Regions from separate parts of the Homo sapiens genome. Here region 1 is linked to region 2. The links are contacts of gene promoters, found by promoter capture Hi-C in human tissues and cell types (Jung and others, 2019). All regions are on one chromosome and are shown on one strand. Each heading gives the region's core, a stretch centred on a gene start or on the middle of the fragment in contact. The rest is flanking DNA. Distances are from core to core; before and after follow the strand shown.

What was found. Contacts are between HindIII fragments. The study calls those that stand out against the background at their distance.
Region 1: the fragment with the promoter of NXNL1 here is called in contact with the fragment with the promoter of PLVAP in region 2 in 1 of the 25 tissues and cell types used here (spleen).

Annotation. Positions count from the first base shown.
Region 1 is chr19:17,458,526-17,462,779 of GRCh38, forward strand. NXNL1 (nucleoredoxin like 1) reads right to left here and starts at 2,401. Exons shown (of 2, transcript NM_138454.2): 1 at 2,019-2,401. The coding sequence starts at 2,344. RefSeq lists an enhancer at 2,307-2,807. The HindIII fragment of the contact is 17,798 bases long and covers 1,883-4,254 here.
Region 2 is chr19:17,375,262-17,379,098 of GRCh38, forward strand. It overlaps PLVAP (plasmalemma vesicle associated protein), which reads right to left and starts at 2,081. Exons shown (of 6, transcript NM_031310.3): 1 at 1,659-2,081. The coding sequence starts at 2,027. LOC105372298 (a long non-coding RNA gene) reads right to left here. Exons shown (of 3, transcript XR_936362.3): 3 at 3,529-3,569. The HindIII fragment of the contact is 34,336 bases long and covers 1-3,837 here.

The sequences.
Region 1 (4,254 bases), core at 1,151-3,650, 84 kb after region 2:
TAAAAAGTCAAGCTATAATACTGTTTCATTGGGCAGCTCCTTTTGTAAATTTTTTTAAAGGATCTTTTTAATTTTTTTTTTTTTTTTTTTTTTTGAGACAGAGTCTTGCTCTGTCGCTCAGCCTGGAGTGCAGTGGTGCGATCTTGGCTCACTGCACCCTCCGCCTCCCGGGTTCAAGCGATTCTCGTGCTTCAGCCTCCTGAGTAGCTGGGACTACAGGTACCCAACACTACGTCTGGCTAATTTTTGTATTTTTAGTAGAGACGGGGTTTCACCATGTTGGCCAGGTTGGTCTTGAACTCCTGACCTCACGTGATCCACCCACCTCGGCCTCCCAAAGTGTGCTGGGATTACAGGCATGAGCCACCGCACCAAGCCACCTTTCATAATTTTTCTTTTTTATAATTTTAGAGATGGGAGTGGTGGTGTCTTGCTGTGTTGCCCAAGCTGGTCTTCAACTCCCAGCCTCAAGCAATCCTCCTGCCTCAGCCTCCAAAAGTGCTGGGATTGCAGGTGTCAGCCACCATGCCTGGCTGGACATCTCCTTATAAAGCTTGAATCCGACTACCTCTCCCTCTGTTCTAATGTCCACCATGGCTCCCTGCTACTCTGAGGATCATGTCTATACTTGTTAAGGTGGCTCTGCACCACAGACCTGTCACATCTAAAGAAGATTATGACAAATGCGTGGGCAGTAACAATAACATTGTAAATTTGATCCTCTCCGGAATTACCTACAGTCTCCCTGAACTGGTTGTTCTTTCTCTGACAGCCTCCAAGCCTTTCTGCTGTGCCCTCTGCCTGGAACCCCTTCCCTTTCCTCATTCTCCATCCTCCTATCTTTCTTCTCATTGGAGTCTCCCTGTAATTTATTTATTTATTACATTTTTTATTTTTTATTTTTATTTTTGAGACAGAGTCTCACTCTGTTGCCCAGGCTGGAGTGCAGTGGCACCATCTCGGATCACTGCAACTTTCGCCTCCTGGATTCAAGCAATTCTCCTGCCTCAGCCTCGCAAGTAGCTGGGACCACAGCTGTGCGCCACCAGGCCTGGCTAATTTTTGTATTTTTAGTAGAGACAGGGTTTTGCCATATTGGTCAGGCTAGTCTCGAACTCCTGACCTCAGGTGATCTGCTCACCTTGGCCTCCCAAAGTGCTAGATTTACAGGTGTGAGCCACCGTACCTGGCCTTACTTTTTTAAGAGACAGGGTCTACCTGTATTGCCCTGGCTGGAGTGCAGTGGTGCGATCATAGCTCACTGCAGCCTCAAACTCTAGGCTCCAGTTATCCTCTTACCATAGCCTCCCAGGTGGCTAGGACTACAGGCATGAGCCACCGTGCCCAGCTAGGGGTCTCTCTTTAAAGCCACTTTTTCGGGGAAGCATCCTCTGACCCCGGAACCTCACCAAGGTTTCCCTCATTGTATTTCCACTTTGTGGCCTAGCTTTGTCCTCTGAGCACTACTGCAATTCGCTATTATATATTTGTTTTTTGATTTTTTAGACAGAGTCTCCCTCTGTCACCCAGGCTGGAGGGCAGTGGCACGATCTTACCTCACTGCAGCATCTGCCTCCCAGTTTCAAACGATTCTCCTGCCTCAGCCTCCCAAGCAGCTGGGATTACAGGCGCCCACCACCACGCCTGGATAATTTTTGTATTTTTAGTAGAGACAGGGTTTCACTATGTTGACCAGGCTTGTCTCAAACTCCCGACCTCAGGTGATCTGCCCACCTCGGCCTGCCAAAGTCCTGGGATTACAGGGTTAAGCCACCATGCCCGGCCTTGCTATTACATAGTTGATTCTGTCTTTTGCATCTGTTCCTCTCACTCGGCTCTAAGCTCCCTGGGGTGGCATGGAAGCCAGCATGTGGAAGTGGGCACCCCTGTCTGTACCCCCTAGTTCCCAGTATATGGACTGGCACACAGGGGCTGCTCATTCACTCTAGTTAGAATGGATGCTTCACTTTCAGCGAACATGCCCCCTCCTCCAGGAAGCCCTCCCTGCCCCTCCTCACCTCCTCAGATCATCCTCAAAGGGCAGGAAAAGCCATTTCTTTGGCATGTCCTTGAGGAACAGGTCCTGCTGCTCCTCCGTGGAGTCCTGGGACACGTACACCAGGGCCAGCTGAGCCGCCCGCAGTACATAGAACTCATCTGTGAGCCGCACGAAGAAGTCCTTGAGGATGGGCACGAAGGCCTGGCACTGTGGACAAGCCCCAGCACCAAAGAACAGCAGCACCAGCCGGTTCTCCAGCCTGCGACTGACCTCAGCCTCCGTATCCAGCTCGTCCTGGTCGCTATTGTTGCGGATCAGGATGCGGCCAGAGAACAGGGAGGCCATGGTAACCTGGGTTGGGTGCTGGGGACAGCGCGGCGTGTGGTCCCCGGTCTGCTGACTGGCTCCTCTCCCAGAAATAGAAATCTTTAGAAAACCAGCTTAGGACTTCACTAATCTGCCTAAACCTTGACCTGAGGGGCCTCTAAGGGCGGGGGGCAGGGCTCTCTGTGTGGCCCTTCTCAGGAGAGAGCCGCAAACGCATTAAGAAAACACGTAACAGATGGGCACGGTGGCTCACGCCTGTGATCCCAGCACTTTGAGAGGCAGAGGTGGGAGGATCATCTGAGGTCAGGAGTTTGAGACCAGCCTGGCCAACATGGTGAAACCCTGTCTGTACTAAAAAATAAAAAAATTAGCCAGGCGTGGTGGTGGGCACCTGTAATCCCAGCTACTTGGGCAGCCGAGGCAGGAGAATCGCTTGAAGCCAGGAGGCGGAGGTTGCAGTGAGCTGAGATTGTGCCACTGCACTCCAGCCTGGGCGACAGAGCGAGACTCCATCTCAGAAAAAAAAAGAAAGAAAGAAAGAAAAAAAACCAAAAAACCATGTAGCAGACAGTGACTCACGCCTGTAATCTCAGCACTTTGGGAGGCTGAGGCAGGAGGATCACCTGAGACCAGGAGTTTGAGAGCAGCTTGGGCAACAGTGTGAGACCCCATCTCTATGAAAAAATTAAAAACTTAGCTGGGCATGGTGTTGTCATGAGCCTGTAGTCCCAGCTACTCAGCTGAGATGGAAGGATCACTTGAGCCTGGGAGGTTGAGGCTACAATGACTGCACTACTGCACTCCATCCTGGGTGACAGAGCAAGACCTAGTGTCTAAAAATAAAAAATAGGCTGGGCACGGTGGCTCACGCCTGTAATCCCAAAGCTTTGGGAGGTCAAGGTGGGTGGATCACCTGAAGTCAGGAGTTCGAGACCAGTCTGGCCAACATGGAGAAACCCCATCTCTACTAAAAATGCAAAAATTGGCCAGGTGTGGTGGCTCACGCCTGTAATCCCAGCACTTTGGGAGGCTGAGGCAGGTGGATCACAAGGTCAGGAGATCGAGACCATCCTGACTAACACAGTGAAACCCCGTCTCTACTAAAAGTACAAAAAAAATTAGCCGGGTGTGGTGGCGGGCACCTGTAGTCCCAGCTACTCGGGAGGCTGAGGCAGGAGAATGGCGTGAACCCGGGAGGTGGAGCTTGCAGTGAGCCGAGACCGCGCCACTGCACTCCAGCCTGGGTGACAGAGTGAGATTCCGTCTCAAAAAAAAAAAAAAAGCAAAAATTAGACCGGGTGTGGTGGCTCATGCCTGTAATCCCAGCGCTTTGGGAGGCTGAGGCAGGCGGATCACCTGAGGTCAGGAGTTCGAAACCAGCCTGGCCAACATGGTGAAACCCCATCTCTACTGAAAATACAAAAATTAGCGGCTCGTGATGGCACATGCCTGTAATCCCAGCTACTCGGGAGGCTAAGGCAGGAGAACTGCTTGAGCCTGGGAGGCAGAGGTTGCAGTGAGCTGAGATTGCACCACTGCACTCCATCCAGCCTGGGCAACAGAGCGAGACTACATCTCAAAAAAAAAAAAGCAAAAATTAGCCAGGCGTGGTGGTGCATGCCTGTAATCCCAGCTACTTGGGAGGCTGAGGGAGGAGAATTGCTTGAACCCAAGAGGCGGAGGCTGCAGTGAGACAAGATTGTCCCACTGCACTCCAACCTGGGGGATAGAGTGAGACTCTGTCTCCAAAATAAAAATAAAAAAATTTAATATCTGACTTTTTTGTATGTATATTTTTTGAGACTGGGTCTCACTCTGTCAAGGTGCCCAGGCTGGAGTGCAGTGGTGTGATCATGGCTCACTGCAGCCTTGACCTCCAGGGCTCGGGCGATCCTTCTATTTCAGCGTCCCTGTTAGCTGGCACTAGA
Region 2 (3,837 bases), core at 831-3,330:
GCCACTTATTTGCAGCTTGTGTGTGCTGGACCCCTTTGATTAGTGCTGGCACATTCTGGGAGCTTCATGCATAGTAAGTTATGGGCTCAGGACTGCCAATTAACACACAGGAGGAGAATTAAACTTGGATTCCAAAAAGACAATGAATATTATTTTCAAAATTATATCTCAAATATTGCATGGAATATACTTACAGTTTAAAAAAAATGTTGCTGGCTGGGAATGGTGGCTCATGCCTGTAATCTCAGCACTTTAGGAGGGTGAGCCTAGGAGTTCAAGACCAGCCTCAGCAGCATAGTGAGATTCTGTCTCTAAAAAAAAGTTAGCCAGGGCACCAGGTCAGGGCACGGTGGCTCATGCCTGTAATCCCAGCACTATGGGAGGCCGAGGTGGGTGGCTCACTTGAGGTCAGGAGTTTGAGACCAGCCTGGCAAACATGGTGAAACCCCGTCTCTACTAAAAATACAAAAATTAGCTGGCATGGTTGCACACGCCTGTAATCCCAGCTACTCAGGAGGCTGAGGCAGGAGAATCACTTGAACCTGGGAGGTGGAGGTTGCAGTGAGGCGAGATTGTGCCACTGCACTTCAGCCTGGGTGACAGAGCGAGACTCCGTCTCAAAAAAAAAAAAAAAAATTGCCAGGTGTGGTGGTGCCCACCTGTAATCTCAGCACTTTGGGAGGTCCAGGAGGGAGGATTGTTTGAGCCCAGGAGTTCAAGACCAGCCTGATCAACATAGCGAGACCCCACGTCTACTAAAAATAAAAAATGACCTGGGCATAGTGGCATGTCCATAGTGCCAGCTACTCAAAAGGCTGAGGCAGGAGGATTGCTGGAGCCCAGGATGTCAAGGCTTCAGTGAGCTATGCTCACATCACTGTGCTCCAGCCTGGGTGACAGAGTGAGACCCTGCCTCCAAAAAAAAGAAAAGAAATAAAAAAAATTTAGCTGGACGCAGTGCCCCACACCTGTAATCCCAGCAGTTTGGGAGGCTGGGGTGAGAGGATTGCTTGAGCCCAGGAGTTCGAGACTAGCCTGGGCAACATAGTGAGACCTCATCTCTGCTAAATATAAACATATTAGCTGGGTGTGGTGGTGCACGCCTGTAGTCCCAGCTACTCAGGAGGCTGAGGCAAGAGGATCACTTGAGTCCAGGAGATTGAGGTTGCAGTGAGCTGTGATAGCAATTGCACTCCATCCAGCCCAGGATACACATGGAGACCCTGTCTCTTAAGGAAAAAAAAAAAATCTATCGGCCGGGTGCAGTGGCTCACGCTTGTAATCCCAACAATTTGGGAGGCCAAGGCAGGCGTATCACTTGAGGTCAGGAGTTTGAGACCAGCCTGGCCAACATGGTGAAACCCCATCTCTACTAAAAATACAAAAATGAGCCGGTTATGATGGCACATGCCTGTAATCCCAGCTACTCGGGAGGCTGAGGCAGGAGAATCACTCCAACCCAGGAGGCAGAGGTTGCAGTGAGCCGAGATTGCACCACTGCACTCCAGCCTGGGAGACGGAGCGAGACTCTGTCTCATAAGAAAAGAGAGCATTGGTCCTGTGATCGTCCCCCTCTCTTGGATGAGGAAACTCAGGCTCAGAGAGGTGAGGGGGCTTGCTCAGGGTCCCCAGGGCGAGTGTCCTGCCCACAGCCTTACCCGGTCACCCTGGCACTGGCGGAAGCTGGCATTGATGCGGTCCAGGTCGCGGCGAGCATTCAGCCACATCTGCATGATGGCATCCTTGGCGCGGGTGGTGAAGTTGAGCTCCTTGGTCAAGTTGGACTGGGAGGCCGTGAGCCCTAGGAGCTGACTGTATAGGCCCTCGGCTCGGCGCTCGGTGGCCTGCAGGTTGGACTCTGTGCTCACGTGCACGTTGCCATAGACCATGAAGAGCACGAGCCCCAGGATGATGAGGAATTGGATGAGGGAGACGAAGAGGAAGAAGTAGCGCAGGTAATACCAGCAGCCCCGAGAGCTGCCCCCCGCCCGAGCGTAGGACCCTCCGTGCTCCATGGCCAGACCCATTTGCTCGATCCCGCCGTCCGGTGCACCGTCCCTGCTCACCACCAGGCCTGCTCTGGCCCCCGCCTCGCAGGGGGGAGTGCTTATATTACTCCTCTTAATACTTCCTCTGCCTGGCTCCTTCCTGGCCCGGAGGAAACGGGGGCTGCGGGTTATCACAACACTCCCACTCTGGCTGTGAGAAGGCGGGGGTGGGGCTGGGGGCCCAGAGCCAGGGCACCGGCTGGACCCCTCTGATTAATGCTGGGTGGGGCGCTGGCTGGCTGGTCAGGCATTCCTGGCCTCTTCGAGCCTCGCGTTCGCCTTTACTTGCTGGCGGGTGCTGTTCTCAGTACCTGCTGTGATTAGGTCGCTGAATCATGCCAGGTCTGTTGCTGTCTCCCTTGTGTGGCGGAGGAAACTGAGGCACAGGGAGGAGAAGGGGTTGCCTCGGGGTCTCACGCTGTTAGTTCAGCGAACTTGACTTACCTCAAGACAGGCTGGCTACAGACGTGCACCCACTTCACCAGGGCGGTGCTGATTAAGTGCCACAAAACGTGGGAAATGTGCCAGGCACGGTGGCTCACGCCTATAATCCCAGCACTTTGGGAGGCTGAGGCGGACGGATCACCTGAGGTCAGAAGTTTGAGACCAACCCGGTCACCGTGGTGAAACCCCCCGTCTCTACTAAAAATACAAAACTTAGCCAGGTGTGGTGGTGCTCGCCTGTAATTCCAGCTACCCAGGAGGCTGAGGCAGGAGAATCGCTTGAACCCAGGAGTCGGAGGTTGCGGTGAGCAGAGATCGTGCCATTGCACTCCAGCCTGGGGTATAGAGCAAGACTCTGTTTCAAAAAAAAAAAAAAACAGAAAAAGTGTGAAACTCTTAGCTAGCCTAGGGATGGAGAAGCAGTAGGTGATTAGTAATTGCATAGGAGGGCGTCACGGAGGGCTGAGCCATGGATGGCGGTGGCGCTGGCTCCCCAAGCTCTGTCATTGCCCCCAGTGCCCTGTTCACTTAGATGCTCAGTAAATGCTCCAGGAAACTGCAGCACAAGGAATAATGAACTTGGAGCGGGGAAGAGCTGGCTTTGTCCCGGGAGAGCTCGGGCAAGAGGCCTCGCATGTCTGTGCCTCCCTTTTCCCCTTTGTGAGACGGGGTATACCCAGTGCCTCGTCACTCTGTGGCTGTTGTTATGATTAGGATCATTTCCTGCTGGAGGCACTGCTGGGGGCTCCGTGAGATGGTGAATGACAAGTGGTGGATACGTGGGACTGAGATTCCTCCCCCGACACTCAAAACCCCATGGGCGGCCGGGCATAGTGGCTCACACCTGTAATCTCAGCACTTTGTGAGGCTGAGGCAGGCGGATCACCTGAGGTCAGGAGTGCGAGACCAGCCTGGCCAATATGGTGAAACCCCATCTCCACTAAAAATACAAAAATTAGCCGTGTGTGGTGGCGAGCACCTGTAATCCCAGCTGCTTGGGAAGCTGAGGCAGGAGAACCACTTGAACCCGGGAGGCGGAGGTTGCAGTGAAGCGAGATCGGGCCACTGCACTCCATCCTGGGAGATAAGAGAGAAACTCTGTCTCAAAAACAAAAACAAACAAACCAAAAAAACCACGGGAGTTTTCTGGGGTCGCTGTGGGTCACCCCCCAGTTGGGCCTGGAGGGGATTTGGGGACCCGGAAGCAAAGGATTCTGTGTGTCCTGCCTATCTCCCAGGATCAGGAGCTCCAGGGAAACCCTCCCTGGAGTCCCTTCTTTGTTTGCTCCATGCTGGGTGATGCCAGGGCCCCCCAAGAGGTGTCAGTCCCAACCTCAGCCACAAG